Linked DNA regions of Homo sapiens: region 2 is linked to region 1. Evidence: promoter capture Hi-C in 16 types of primary human blood cells and fetal thymus (Javierre and others, 2016). All regions are on one chromosome and are shown on one strand. Each heading gives the region's core, a stretch centred on a gene start or on the middle of the fragment in contact. The rest is flanking DNA. Distances are from core to core; before and after follow the strand shown. Region 1 holds the start of GRIN2C (glutamate ionotropic receptor NMDA type subunit 2C). Region 2 overlaps RAB37-AS1 (RAB37 antisense RNA 1).

The links. The method cuts DNA at HindIII sites, captures the fragments that hold promoters and counts their contacts. A CHiCAGO score of 5 or more calls a contact.
Region 2: a fragment that was not itself captured here is called in contact with the fragment with the promoter of GRIN2C in region 1 in 7 of 17 cell types (non-activated CD4 T cells, total CD4 T cells, total CD8 T cells and 4 more); the score reaches 6.9 in non-activated CD4 T cells.

The regions. Positions count from the first base shown.
Region 1 is chr17:74,856,047-74,863,156 of GRCh38, reverse strand. GRIN2C (glutamate ionotropic receptor NMDA type subunit 2C) reads left to right here and starts at 3,272. Exons shown (of 13, transcript NM_000835.6): 1 at 3,272-3,413. FDXR (ferredoxin reductase) reads left to right here. Exons shown (of 12, transcript NM_024417.5): 11 at 1-81; 12 at 210-660. The coding sequence ends at 340. RefSeq lists an enhancer at 1,747-2,445. The HindIII fragment of the contact is 5,318 bases long and covers 1-4,996 here.
Region 2 is chr17:74,670,171-74,677,280 of GRCh38, reverse strand. RAB37-AS1 (RAB37 antisense RNA 1) reads left to right here. Exons shown (of 2, transcript XR_007065904.1): 2 at 813-7,110. It also overlaps a transcript of RAB37 not described here. Among named protein-coding and RNA genes, the nearest start is that of RAB37-AS1, 3.9 kb to the left of the region's middle. The HindIII fragment of the contact is 2,630 bases long and covers 1,106-3,735 here.

The DNA.
Region 1 (7,110 bases), core at 2,023-4,522:
TGCAGGACCTGAAGGCTGGGTTGCTCCCCTCTGGCCCCAGGCCTGGCTACGCAGCCATCCAGGCCCTGCTCAGCAGCCGAGGTCTGGGCCCCGATGCTGAGGTCCTGGGAGGTGGGGTGGGTGGTCCTTCTCTGGGCCTCACTCTTTGGGAGGGGGCTGTTCTGGGAGGGGTGAAGGAGGAGGTGTTGACAATCTCCCCTCTGCTTCAGGGGTCCGGCCAGTCTCTTTCTCAGACTGGGAGAAGCTGGATGCCGAGGAGGTGGCCCGGGGCCAGGGCACGGGGAAGCCCAGGGAGAAGCTGGTGGATCCTCAGGAGATGCTGCGCCTCCTGGGCCACTGAGCCCAGCCCCAGCCCCGGCCCCCAGCAGGGAAGGGATGAGTGTTGGGAGGGGAAGGGCTGGGTCCGTCTGAGTGGGACTTTGCACCTCTGCTGATCCCGGCCGGCCCTGGCTTGGAGGCTTGGCTGCTCTTCCAGCGTCTCTCCTCCCTCCTGGGGAAGGTCGCCCTTGCGCGCAAGGTTTTAGCTTTCAGCAACTGAGGTAACCTTAGGGACAGGTGGAGGTGTGGGCCGATCTAACCCCTTACCCATCTCTCTACTGCTGGACTGTGGAGGGTCACCAGGTTGGGAACATGCTGGAAATAAAACAGCTGCAACCAAGAGCCATGGTTGATGGGGGACTTTTTTTGGAAGGGTTGGGGTCGGGGGTCACCTTCTGGCCGTAGCTCCCCTACCATCACCAGGTGGCGCTGCAGAGACGGCTCCCTGCTCAGGGGCCTCATTGGGGGCTTGATGGGGCTCGGCAGCCAGGCCTGGCATAGCCACCCTTCCTTTCTCCGCTCGGCCCTGCTGTGGCTGCGGGTTGCCTGTCTTCTGTCCACACTAGGGCTGCCCGGGACCGGGACCGGGACCACCCCTCCCTGGGGAGCCCTCAGTACAATCAAAACAGAAAAGAAATGGGAGCGGGGGACTGAGAAGCAGCTTGTCCCCTGTACCTCTGGGTGCCCCAGGCGAGTCTAGCCTGGGGCCCATTCTTTGGCTCTCAAAGCCTTCCTGCTTCCGTTTCCAGTCAGACACACTGGCCTTTAAAAATAGTGCCTCAGTCTCCCTAGGGCTTTGCAGTGTCCAGAGAGTGGTCACTCCCTTTTATGGCAGCCCTCAAGATGCTGCCTCGCTGTATAACCTGAGGGGTCCTCGAAATTGGCCCAAGGTCACACACTCGTGAGCTGCGGGCTCAAACCCAGGCTCCGGGCAGGCTGGTGTGTCCTCCGAGGCGCACTTGCCCCGAGTGTCAGGTCTGGGGACGCGGTTCCGGAGAGGGGAGAGGGGCCCGGGAATGCGGCGGGAGGGGCCTCGAGGGGCAGCGGGCCGGGCCGGGCCGGGGCGGAGGTGGCGGGCCCCGGCGGGGCGGGCCCTCGCGGGCGGCGGTGAGAGCTCCCGCACAGTCGGCTGCGAGCTCTGGGAGCAGGAGGCGCGGTGCGCAGCCCAGCCCGGGACGGAGCCGGGCGCCGTGCGAGCTTCGGGAGGGTCGCGGGGCGCAGGGGCGGGTCGGGGCCAGCGGACCAGGCCGCGCCACCCGCCCCCGCCCCCGCCCCGCCGCGCCCGGGCTCCGGCGCCCGCGGAGCTGAGACTGAGCGCGCCAGCCCTCCGGGGCCGAGGCTCTGGGACAGACACCGCGAGGGAGGCGGCCGGCGCGGGCTCTCGTCGCGGGCGCAGCGCCCCTTCCCCTCGGTAAGTGGCGAGCGGCGGGCGAGGGGCACCAACTTCGCCGCCAACTTGGGGCTGGGTTCCCGCGGCGCGCGAGCAAGGACGGCGGAGACAGAGGCGGGACACCCGGGGGGTTGGACCCACGCAGGACTCTCGGGGCTCAAGGAGGGGGCGGCTGGAGGACCCGGACCCTCAAGAACCTGGCCTTGGGTTTTGACCCGGGCGGCCGGAGAGAAGGCGAAGAAGAGGCCGAGCAGACAGGCGCGCGGCGGACGCGAGAGAAGGACGCGGGCGAAGCGTCCAAGACGTTCGTCCCCAGGGTCGCCGAGCCCTCCTCCTCCTTCGCTTGGCGCGGCAGCACCGCGGGACCAGGGGAGTCTGGGCTGCCGCGGACCCAAACTGTTGCTGCTGGAAGCCGCCGGGGCGGAGAGCGGGGAACAGGGCCGGGAGTGGGGGCCGGGGCTGGGATCCACCAGAGCGAGGGGTTGGAAAGGAGTCGAGAAGGTGAAAGGGGGCTGTGCGGCTCCCCAGCCCAGTGCCCCAGTTTCCCTAGGTCTGCTGGGCACCTGCTGCGCACTCGCCTCGGCGCCCAGACCCCTTCCCCCGCCGCGAGTCCCGCTTCTTCCCCTTCCAGCTCTGCCCCATCTCCTTTGCCCCAGCCTAGCTCTCTCCTTCCTGCGACCTGGGAGAATCGGAGTGGGCTTCCAGAGTAGTGGCATCTTGCAGATGCTGGCCCGTGCCCGGCTCCCGGGCTTCCAGAGCGCAAAGGGAAGGGTAGGCAGAGAGGGCACTGGGCGAGCAAGACCTGGCGCTGGGCCCTGGCTGCGCACCAGCCGCCTGCGCCGGTCTCTGGGGGCTTCGCCCAGGATCCCCGACGGCGGGGAGGGGAAGCCCCGAGTCTCCTGTTTCCTGCCTACGCGGGCAGGGCGGGGACACGCGGAGCAAAGGCACCCGGCAACCTGAACCCCCAGGTGCGTCCCGCGACCCTGCAAGGAGCTGCTGGGTGAGCAAGACGGGAATTCCCGCCAGGCCCTGATGCCCACCCCATTCGTCCACTCGGTTTCCCAGCCCTGGTCGTCCAAGGGGACTTCTGGCTCGGTCCCCCAGCCCTCGGATGGTGGCGTTATCTTAGTTCAGTCCCTGACCCCGGGCCACAGGAAAATCGAGGAAAGACACTTATTTGGGGAGGGTACCATTCCGCTGGCTGTATTTCAGAGCCCGTCCAGGTCTTGGCGGTGCTAGTGACTTTGAGCCTGTTTCTAAACTCCCGAAGAATAAGAGCGTGCCAGGGGCAGGTAGGCAGGTCCGGGACACCTGGGTTCGCCCAGGGCCCCCGGGCGGGCCTGGGATGGTACTGGGGCCGCCTGCCAGGCTGGCTTGGTCCCCCCACTGCGGGACTCGGGGTCACGACCCAGCTTGGGGGAGTGGGGGTGGGGGCCCCGGAGCCGCGGACGCCGGCGGGGGGCAGCGTGGGGCGGGGGGCGCCGGGTGCGTGGTGCTCAGCTTGGCCGCCAGGAGGCGTGGCGCGGGTCCCCGCCCGGAGCCGCCGCCGCCGCCGCCGCCGCCGCATCGCGAGTGTCCTTGAGCCGCGGGTGACGGTGGCTCTCGCTGCTCGCGCCCCCTCCTCCCGCGGGGGGAGCCTGATGCCACGTTCCCTATGAATTATTTATCGCCGGCCTAAAAATACCCCGAACTTCACAGCCCGAGTGTAAGAGATTGCTGCGGAGGGGAGGGGGCGGGGCGTCCCGGTGGCCAGGGGGAGTCCGGGCGGGGTCCGCGGAGACGGGGGCCGTAGCCTTGGAGGAGCAAGAACTCCGTGCCCCCAGCAGTGGGGCAAGCTAGAACGGCGGTCCTCTCCCCTGGCGCCTGGGTTCGGGTTTTGGCTGGGCAAAAGGGAGGGAGGGAAACCCGACGGCAAAGGAGGGGCGGCTCACCGGAAGGGCAGGGGGTCCGGGGGTTCTGCTGGTGGGTGGGGAGGACTCCTGCGACAGAGTTTCCTAGCCTGGGAGAGGGAGAGCCATCGGTATCTCAGATGTGAGCGGGTATGAGTGCGGGAGTGTGCATGTGTGTGCAGGTCCGTGCCAGGGGGTCTGGCTGAGCTGTGAGGACCCGGGAAGGAGAAGGCCCCCAGCCTGGGAAGGTGCTCAGACCCTTCTAGATGCTGCTGTGTCCTGCAGGACTGACCACTGCCATCCTCTCTGGGGCTCTTTGGGGATCTCTGTGTTTGTCAAACATTAGTTTAAGGGCTGTTTGTGGAAGGGGTGAGACCCTGAGTGGGTGGGTGGGCAGAGGTCTCTGAGACAATGTGTCTGCCCTCAAGGAGCCCGCAGTCCAGTGTGGGGCAGGGTGTTAATGAGTGCACACACACCTGCCGCAGGGCAGAATGGAGGGGTGGAGGGGACCACTACACAGAGCTCCCCACCCAGGAGGGGAAGCCAGGGCAGGGGGAAGAAGGGCAGGTGCCCCAGCCTGGCCGCAGTCCCTGCGCCTAGAGCCTGAGGCATCAAGGCAGGTGCCTGTGGGAGAGGGATTTCAGCTGGGCCCTGAAGGAGAGTAGACTTCTGTTGGGATGAGGACATTCCAGCCTGGGGGATGCTGGAACGAGGCCTGGAGATGAGGGCAGAATGGGGCTGTTTGGCCAGCAGACTGGCAGAGCTGTGGGTTCCAGGGATGGGAGGACGGTTGGTTGCGGTCAGGGTGCAGAGGGCTCTGTCTATGGGACTAAGCTGTCTGGACTTCATTTGTGGGCACCAGGGTGTAGCTGTCCTGTGTGAGGAGGGAGCAGTGGCTGGAGGAAGGCTTCAGCAGTGCAGTGGGGCTGGCGGGGGTGGGTAGGTGGGAGGTGGGGAGGGGGAGGCAAGGGAGGAGATTGTGGCGGGGGAAAGTGGAGTTTGTCCCTCCTACCTCTGTAGGGTGGCTGGGTTAGACGGGGTGATGAGACAGAATTCGGAAGCTCCTTGAGTCTGCCCCTTGCTATTTGGAGCCCAGGGACTTACCTAGTTTTGGCCCCTGGCTCTGGAGGTATTCTGGGATCCCTCCCCCATTTTAGGCCCCTTGATTAGAGGTACAACCTGCCTCAACTCCCCCACCCCCCGACCCCCAACCCCCAACCCAGCAGGACACCTTCCCTTTGGAGAGAGTCTCTGGTGTCCCCAGCCCATGAGGATGTCTTCCTATTGGAGAGAGTGGGAATGAGAACATTTTCAGCTATTACCAGACCCTTATTCCTTCATGTGAATGAGCTCTAGGTCCTTGGCTAAGAAAAGGTCTTGACTGGGGAGGGTGGAAGCTTGAGGGGAGTAGGGAGTTGGAAAGAGAAATACATTTAGAAAAAGGAGGTTGGAGATGCTAATGGCAGACTGCTTATTCTGCCCCTTTGCAGTTGAGGGAGAGCCTGGGCCCTTCATCCAGGGTCACACTGTCCAAAGAAATAAAATGGGAGCCACAAGTACAATTTAAAATTTTCTAGTAACCACATTAAAACAAATAGAAACAGGTGACGTTAATTTTAATAGTATATTTTCTTTGACTAAACATACCCCAAATGTTATTATTTCAACATGTAATCAAGATACAAGTGTTTACGAGATTTTTTACATTCTTTTTCCCTGTTGTCTTCAATGTGCAGTGTGGCATGAAATTTTACACTGATAGCAAACTCCGTTTGGGTGAGAGATGTTTCTGGTACCCAATAGTCGTGTATGACTGGCGGCTCCTATACTGGGCAGCACAGATCTAGAGCTCATTACTGGGAGGCAGGGGTAGTAGGAGGTTTGGGGCTCCCCAGAGGGCAAGGAACCTCTAGGACCTGGAGGTGTGGGCAGAGGTGAGCAGACAGAGGCCGTGCAAGGGGAGCGACAAGCATGTCAGTGTCCTTTGTGGTTGAGATCTGACATCCCTGATTGGTGGTGGCAGCTGAGGCATGGCATGGCATGGCTAGGATCGATCCCTTGCCAGACTCAAACATGTCTCTGGGCTGTCAGTTCTGTCACTTCTGTCACTTCTGTGTCACTGTACTAGGGAACCGTACACATGGGAAGATTTCAAGGGCGCCACCATGAGAGCAATATTCCCTTCCTTGCCAAAACTCTTGTCTTCTTGGCCTGAAATTCTACCACCTGGCACTTTAGCTTAAGGCTCTGATTGTGGTTAAACTACATCTCTCTTGGGAATGAGAACCCTTTCAGCTATGATCAGTCCCTCATACCTTCCTGTGAATGAGCTCTAGATGCTTAGCTAAGAGAAGATCTTGACGGGGAGGCTGGGGAGTTTGAGGGAAGTAGGGAGAGAAGGTTGGAAAGAGAAATATATTTAGAAAAAAGGAGGTTGGAGGTGCTAACAGCAGCATGCTCATTCTGCAGATTTGACTCTAAGTTCCTGGAGGGCAGGGACCATGTCTCACCCATAGGGACATTCCACCATCCAGCGCCTGCTGCAGGGAAGGGGCTCAGCACACACGGGCCAATTGATGTTTCTACACTAAAGTTGGTTTAGTGGGTTCCCTGGAGGGATCCTTTCAGTGCCACCCTGGGGAGAAGAGGAACTTTCCTGAATGTTCCTGGTAGCCTCTTGCACTTCCCCGCTCTCTGGATTCCTTAGAGAGAACTAGAGATACAAGAAGGCCCATATGTCTGTAAGACATTAGGCTTTGGATTAAAAAAAAAGAGAGAGATAGCTGGGTGTGGTGGCTGACGCCTGTAATCCCAGCACTTTGGGAGGCCGAGGTGGGCAGATCATGAGGTCAGGAGATCGAGACCATCCTGGCTAACACGGTGAAACCCTATCTGTACTAAAAAATACAAAAAATTAGCCGGGCATGGTGGTGGGCGCCTGTAGTCCCAGCTACTTGGGAGGCCGAGGCAGGAGGATGGCATGAACCCGGGAGGTGGAGCTTGCAGTGAGCCGAGATCGCACCACTGCACTCCAGTCTGGGTGACAGAGCAAGACTCTGTCTCAAAAAAAAAAAAAAAGAGAGAGAGAGAAATTTGGTGGCAGGCAAAAGGAAGGCCCTGTGAGAAAGCTGGAGCCTGCCCAGCAGTTGTCTCGGGCCCCATCCCTGAAGGGCATCTGTCTTTCGGAGGCGTGGTTTCTGGCAACTGCTTGATTTTCGTGAGCATTTCTGTAGCAGAGATGTGCAGATCCTGGGGGAGGCGGGAGGGCTGGAGTGGCAGGCTCACCCTGTCCACCCTTTAGCTCTTCCCTGCTCAGAAGTTTTGCTGGGGATGTGATGAAGATGGGAGAGATGGCAGTGCCATGGCCGATGGCCAGCTGGGAGGGAGAGTGACATCCGTGGGCACCACTCCACTCAGGCTTTGTGTTACCCTCACTGCTGTGGCTCTTGGTCCCAATCCAAAATAATGACATTTAGCAAGGATACGTGTCAGGCCCCTGGGTTGGGTTCAAAA
Region 2 (7,110 bases), core at 1,171-3,670, 190 kb after region 1:
TGTATCCAGACCTTTCCCTAGGATTAATAGGTGACAGTCCCATGGGGAGGGAGCTAGCTGATGTGTGGAACTCTGTCTCTCATGGATGTTAACTTTATTTTTTATTTTTTAATTTTAATTTTTTTTGTGGGGGGACAGAGTCTCACTCTGTCACCCAGGCTGGAGTGCAATGGTGTGATCTCAGCTCACTGCAACTTCTGCTTCCTGGGTTCAAGCGATTCTCCTGCCTCTGCCTCCTGAGTAGCTGGGATTTCAGGCGTGCACCACCACGGCTGACTAATTTTTGTATTTTTAGTAGAGACGAGTTTCACCATGTTGGCCAAGCTGGTCTCGAATTCCTGACCTCATGATCCACCTGCCTCAGCCTCCCAAAGTGCTGGGATTACAGGTGTGAGCCACCGTGCCAAGCCTGGAGGTTAACTTTAATCAGAAGCCATAAGTGAGAGAGGACATTTCAAATTCAGTCAGACATGACCTTTTCTTCCTGGGTCACTCCCTTGCAGCTACCCGTATCTTTCTTAGGACACTTCTGGAATTATATAAAAGTATAGCCATTTGTGTGCATGCCTTCTAGGCCACAGGCTTAGTGAAGGTGGGAATCATTTGCGTCTATATTCTCGACAATGACCAGCCTAGTTCTTTACGCTTTGGAAATGTCCAATGCATGTTTGCTGAATGAATCGATGAGGCATGCGGACTTTTGAGGGACACAGAAATTACAAGATGGGTAATAGAAGAAGGAAGTGAAGAATAAGTGCAGGAGATGGGGGAGAGTGGCAGATATTACCTGCTTGCCTTTTCCTTTCACCCAGAAGAGGTGTTAGAGCAGTCGGAGGAAATGGACATACTTTGGAAGACAGAGACCTGGTAATCCCTTTTCACCCAAGAAGAACCAAGCCCTGGATGAATGGATGAGCAGCTCACGTTTTTCTGCCCCCCACCCCCAGTCTTTCTGAGACTGACTTTGTCCTAGGAATTGTTCGTCCCTCTGGAAGCTAGTCTGGTATGTGGATGTTCCTTAGAGCCCTGGTGATAGGGAATTAGGAAGTAAGTGCTTGAACTGAAGCCCTTTTGTCCTAATTCACTGGTATCTGGGGCAAAAGCTTGCCCTCTCTGTGAAAATGAAATGAAAATCTTTTCATTTTCTGGGAGCTCAAGGTCAGACCCTGGCACAGTAGGGACCCAATCCGTGGGCTGTTCCTGAACCCCTACCCCAGACCATTGCCCTGGATGGCTCTTGAAGCTGGTGGCAAGAGAGAACTGAGAGTTCTCTAAGGAAAAGAGCAGCCAGGTTGCTCCTTTGTTTTAAATTATTTAGCTGCACCAAATTTTCAGATTTGTGGCAACAACAACTCTATTTAAAAACTCCAGGCACATGATGGATGAGCTCAATGTTTTCAGTCAGTTCCCAGCTTCCAGCCCACCCTACGGGAATCTTCTAAGAGTTACTTGGGCTTGCCTGGGTCAGCCTCCAACTATTGGGACCAGCTAAAGTGCAAGAGCTACACAATGCCTATCATGATATTTGGCGTATGTTTTTCATATAAATGAATTTCATCAAGTCCCATACACCACCTCCAAGAGAAAAAAGATACTCAACTTAGGAAGTCAGAACTGGGATGTTTGCATAGAAGTCACGCTTTTTGTATAGATGGGTTGTGTGAGTTTATTTCCATGGACTTCTGCCTGTGAAATAGGTAGTGTGTGTGTTTCTGAGATTCTCTTGTATGAAGCTGCTGCTCTTCTCACAAAGCTCATCATTTTAGGTGAGACTGAATGTGACACCCATTGAAGCTGCTTTGGAGCCCAAGATGCATGCCCTAATACAACCACTTTTTTTTTTTTTTCGGATGGAGTCTCACTCTGTCACCAGGCTGAAGTGCAGTGGTGTGATCTTGGTTCACTGCAACCTCTGCCTCCCAGGTTAAAGCGATTCTCCTGCCTCAGCCTCCTGAGTAGCTGGGACTGCAGGTGCATGCCACCACCCCCGGCTAATTTTTGTATTTTTAGTAGAAATGGGGTTTCACCATGTTGGCCAGGATGGTCTCGATCTCCTGACCTCATGATTCATCCTCCTTGGCCTCCCAAAGTGCTGGGAGCCACTGCGCCCAGCCAATACAACCACTTTTATTGAATGCTTCCTATATTCCAGAGATTTTATATATACGCGTTACATTATATTCGCTAACATCCTTGCTCAAAAATAATAAGGCAGGTATTATCATTCCTATTTTATAGCTAAGAAAATTAAGACTCACAGATGTTGCTCAAAGTCACATCAAGGTTTGGCTTATTCCAAGCCTGGAGTTTCGTTTCATCATACGACAATATCTCTTCTCTGGCAAGTTTCTAGGACTACCCTACATAACATCTGCTGTGCTGTCAAAACACAAGATGATGCTTCTTCCTCTATAATGACAATCTCTGGGGGAGGGTGTTTGGCAAGTGGAATGTGGGAGGGGGCCTCTTGGGAAGCTGACAAGGTTCTATTTCTTTCTCTTGATAGTGATTGCACAGGTATGTTCACTTTGTGATAATTCACCAAGGTAGACACATAAGATTCAGGATTTTTTGGTGTTTGTCATATTTCTTTTTGTTTTTTTGAGATGGAGTCTTGCTCTGTTGCTGAAGCTGGAGTGCAGTGGTGTGATCTTGGCTCACTGCAGTCTCCACCTCCTCGGTTCAAGTGATTCTCCTGTCTCAGCCTCCCTAGTAGCTGAGATTATAGGAGTGTGTTACCACGCCTAGCTGATTTTTGTATTTTTAGTAGAGACAAAGTTTCGCCATGTTGGCCAGGCTGGTCTTGAACTCCTGACCTCAAGAGATCTGCCCGCCTCAGCTTCCCAAAGTGGTGTTTGTTATGTGTCAATAACAAGTCTATTTAAAAAATCATTTCCCCACGCTGGGCATGGTGGCTCATACATATAATGCCAGCACTTTGGGAGGCCGAGCGGGTGGATCTCTTGAGGCCAGGAGTTCAAGACCAGCCTGGCCAACATGGTGAAACTCTGTCTCTACAAAACAACAACTGCCAAAAAATTAGCCAGGCATGGTGGCACATGCCTGCAGTTCCAGTTACTGGGGAGGCTGAGGTGGGAGAATCACTTGCCTGGGAGGCAGAGGTTGCAGTGAGCTGAGATCACACCACTGCATTCCAGCCTGGGTGACAGACTGAGACCCCACTTCAAAAAAAGAATTTATCCTAGCAATTAATGTTGGAGGGGAGCCCTGCTTCTCATGGACAATAGACACTAATCAATCAATGGGAACTCCTTGGACTCTACTACATAGTAATTTTTAATATAATACAAATAAGTTGATGCCCTACCCCTTTACAAAAAGAGTTTTAAGTGGATCACAATAAAACATCATGCACAATCATAAAGTAGTATTAGGAGGAGGTTGTCAGCACTATATAAGAAGGAAAACTTTCCTTACATACATATGTCACTCTGCTGGGCACCACAGAAGGTTTAAGGCTGGCTCCTGCTCTCAGGGTGCTCACACAGCCAAGCTGATGACATTGAGCCTTTACTAGTAGTAAATAGATACTTGCCTTTAAATATGTTGGAACTTGTTGGAATGGGTTCCCACTCTCAATTTGGTGATCAATAAACTCAAAGGAAGTAACAGTCTTCATGGACTACATCCTACATCTCGTGTGTGGGTAATTGAAATGGAAAATACCACATCTGATCAATATTTTGAACAATCTGAGCTCCCAATCTTAAAGCTTTCAAAATGAGTATTTATACCTTTATAGGATGGTATAAACTTGGAGAGACCCACATATCTAGTTGCCAGGAAAATTTTGTAATTGATTTGTAATTATGTTCCTCTGCTTGCATAAACTTTTTTTTTCTTTTTTTTTTTGAGACAAGGTCTTGCTTTGTTGCCCAGGCTAGAGTGGAGTGCAGTGGTGTGATTTCGGTTCACTGCAGTCTCTGCCTCCCAGGCTCAAGCAATTCTCCTGCCTCAGCCTCCTGAGTAGCTGGGATCACAGGCGCACACCACCATGCCCAGCGAATTTTTGTATTTTTAGTAGAGACAGATTTTACCATGTTGGCCAGGCTGGTCTTGAACCCTTGACCTCAAGCGGTCCACCGCCTCGGCCTCCCAAAGTGCTGAGATTACAGGTGTGAGCCACCATGCCTGGCCTTGCATGCAGTTTTTACTGGGCTAAATTGACAACATCAAATAGCACAGAATTTCTTCTAGTTTACTTCAAACTGTGATGGCTTTAAAATTTCTAGACTGGGATAGTTGTTATACATTTTTTCTCCTTCTCTATATCCTAGGAATTCAGAGACCTGGAGGGAGAAGACACATGGACTGTCAGATCTAGAGACCTGCTTCCTTCAATAGCTGATTTTCTTTCATTTGTGTCAGAAACAGGCAGCATGGCACAGAGCCATGCACCTAAAACTTTATTGTGCATATTTATTCCTAGAGATCTTGTTAAAATGCAGATTCAGATTCAGCCAATCTAGGGTCAGGGCTTTCTATTGTAATAAGTTCCAAGGTAATGCCAATGCTGCTGGTCCATGGACTGCACACTTTGATGAGAAGTTTAGTAAGGATATAGAGGAAAGAATACTACACGTGTAGTAGTAATTTCTGGCTTTTAGTATCAGCTCTGCCATTTACCAGCTTGCTTTCTTGGACAAGTCATTTTTCCTCTCTGGATTTTAGTTTCCTCAAATATAAGCTGGGTGATAGAGGAGGAGGTTGGGTTAGGTTATTTCAAAGCTTGCATTCATAGACTCTTCAAAGTGATGTTTTGATTAAAAAACTCCACCTATAGGATCACGTACAGCTTTTCAAAGGACTAGCAGGTGAACTGGCATTATCAAAGCAGAAAATATAGGGGCTGGAGCAGGAAGGCATGGCAAAGTCAGAGAAAAGGAAGGTGAGCCATAATAACTTCTTATGGCAAATATAACACTTTGATTATTTCAGAGTGATGGATTTTGAATTAAAACTGTTATCCTGAGAGAGGCTACTATTTTTCCCAACAACTATCTTAGGGGGAGACCTGCATTACTGAAAACTGAGTTGCATAAGAAACTTGAGTGAAGGAAGCAATGGATATGTTAGTGCTTTGAAATAAGCAAATGCTTACAGGGGCTGTGAGGGAATCATGGCTGGAGGGAAGCTTTCTGGAGCCATGAGGGAGTCTGATTTGAAAACAGCAGTTCATCTCTGCTGCAGACCATTTATCTAATTTCAGACAAATTGGCCAGAAATTCAGGTATTTGGCCACTGCTAGCAGATGTAACAGGGAGAAATGCAGTCTCCTACAAGGGTTAGGAGAGCAAGGTGCCAGGGGTCACCCAGGGGCATAAATAGGCAAGGAGAAGGAGGGGGTGAAAAAGGAACACAGATGATGTAAGTGAATGAATGAAGCTTCTGACCATCTGAGCCTCTGGCGGCAGCCCTTCCCCAAGAGCTCACGCATCTCTGTTTTGAGCAGGAAACAGGATCAGACAGAAAGGGCTCCCCAGACTCACAGATACAAGCTAGTTTCTCATTAAGTCCCAAAGCAAAGTCAGGGGAGTGGAGAAAACTCCTGGTGCTGGCGCCTCTTCCAACGTTAGGTTGAGGAATACAGGAGATGTTTACCTTATGCAGGACGTGGTCGTTGAAGTCAGGGCCAGCTCCTCCCTGGTAGGAATCGGGTCTCTGCAGGTCCATGCCAGGCTTGGAGCTCGCCGCTCCGGCTCTCCCTGCGCTCTGCGTCAGCGCTTCCAGGAGCTCGGTTCGAGCTCCGCTGGGTGCGGCAGGCTTGGGTCTGAGCTCTGCGGGCCGGGCCGCATCCGTTTTCAGCACTGGACAGTTCCCCGCAGCGGCCGCGGCGCGGTACCAGGCGGGCAGGCGGCCACGTTCTTCCAGGACTGAGCGTTTCAGCACCAGGAACAGCGACTCCGCCGTTGTGCGCCCGGGACCAGAGTTCTGAGATCCTGTCCGCTCCAATCCCTGCCTCTTAGGACTCCAGGATGCTGGCAGGGACGCAAGATTTGGGTCCGGCTGGTGATCCCTGCGTATTTCATTCAGCTACCGGACTCCGGAGGCTCAGCACCCGGCTGCGTTCTCAGGGCATTGCGGTCCCAGGAGCTCACCGTTCCTGATCCCGAGCGAACGGGCATCTCCGTCACCACGCAGCTCAGCGCAGCGCAGCTCTCCTCACACGTTTGCAGAGGCGAAGTCCTGCGGCGCTGGCGGCGCTTCTGTTTTTGTCCCTGGACAATTCTCTCCAGGATGTATGAGATAAATAGAGCTTCTAAGTCTGAGGTCGACAGTAGATGGGTCTTAGGTGTCCCCAAAGTCCCTGAAATATGCAAAATTCTGTTTACCTGCGTTTTCCTAGGGAGAAGGTCCAGGGCTTTGATCACATTCTCTCCAGCACACATGACCGCAAGAAGTTAAGGACAATGGGCTCAGGAGAGGCAGATGGTGGTTTGGTTAGGAGCACAGGCTCCAGGATTCAAATCTCGATTCTGAAAATTATTAGTCGTGCAAACTCGGGCAAATTAATCTTTCCTAAGTGTCCACAAAATGGAGATAATATTATAATAGTACCTGCCTCATGGTTTTGTTCTGAGTATTTAATGAGTTAATTCATGTAAAAAGCCTAGAACAGTGCCCAGCGTGTACTAAGAACTCAATAAATGTGAGCTACTATGCTCTCCTGGCAGGGGATGAAGAGCTCTGGCTACTTCTCCTATACGTCAGGGGAGTCCTGCTGCTGCGACCTTTGATTGGCAAAATTGCATCATCACATGGAATATGAGAGCGTGAGGCTGACCACCATGGGAACTGGAGGCTGAGACTGTGGCCCCTGGGATTATTATCAGATTACTAAGGACAAGTCCTAGTACCAGCCACGGGCCCTTGGAGTCAATATCAACATGGAAGGAAAGAGCCAGGCTTAGGGTTAAAAGAGTGCGTTTTACTGCTGGGTTTCACTCCTTTTTGGCTGAGTTGTGTGAACCAGATCACTCGTGTTCCCTGGGATTACTTATGTTTTCTCATCTGCAAAATAGGTAGAGTAATCTATGCCCACTTTATTGGGTTTGGGGGAAGAGTGAGACAATGTACATGAAAAGTCTT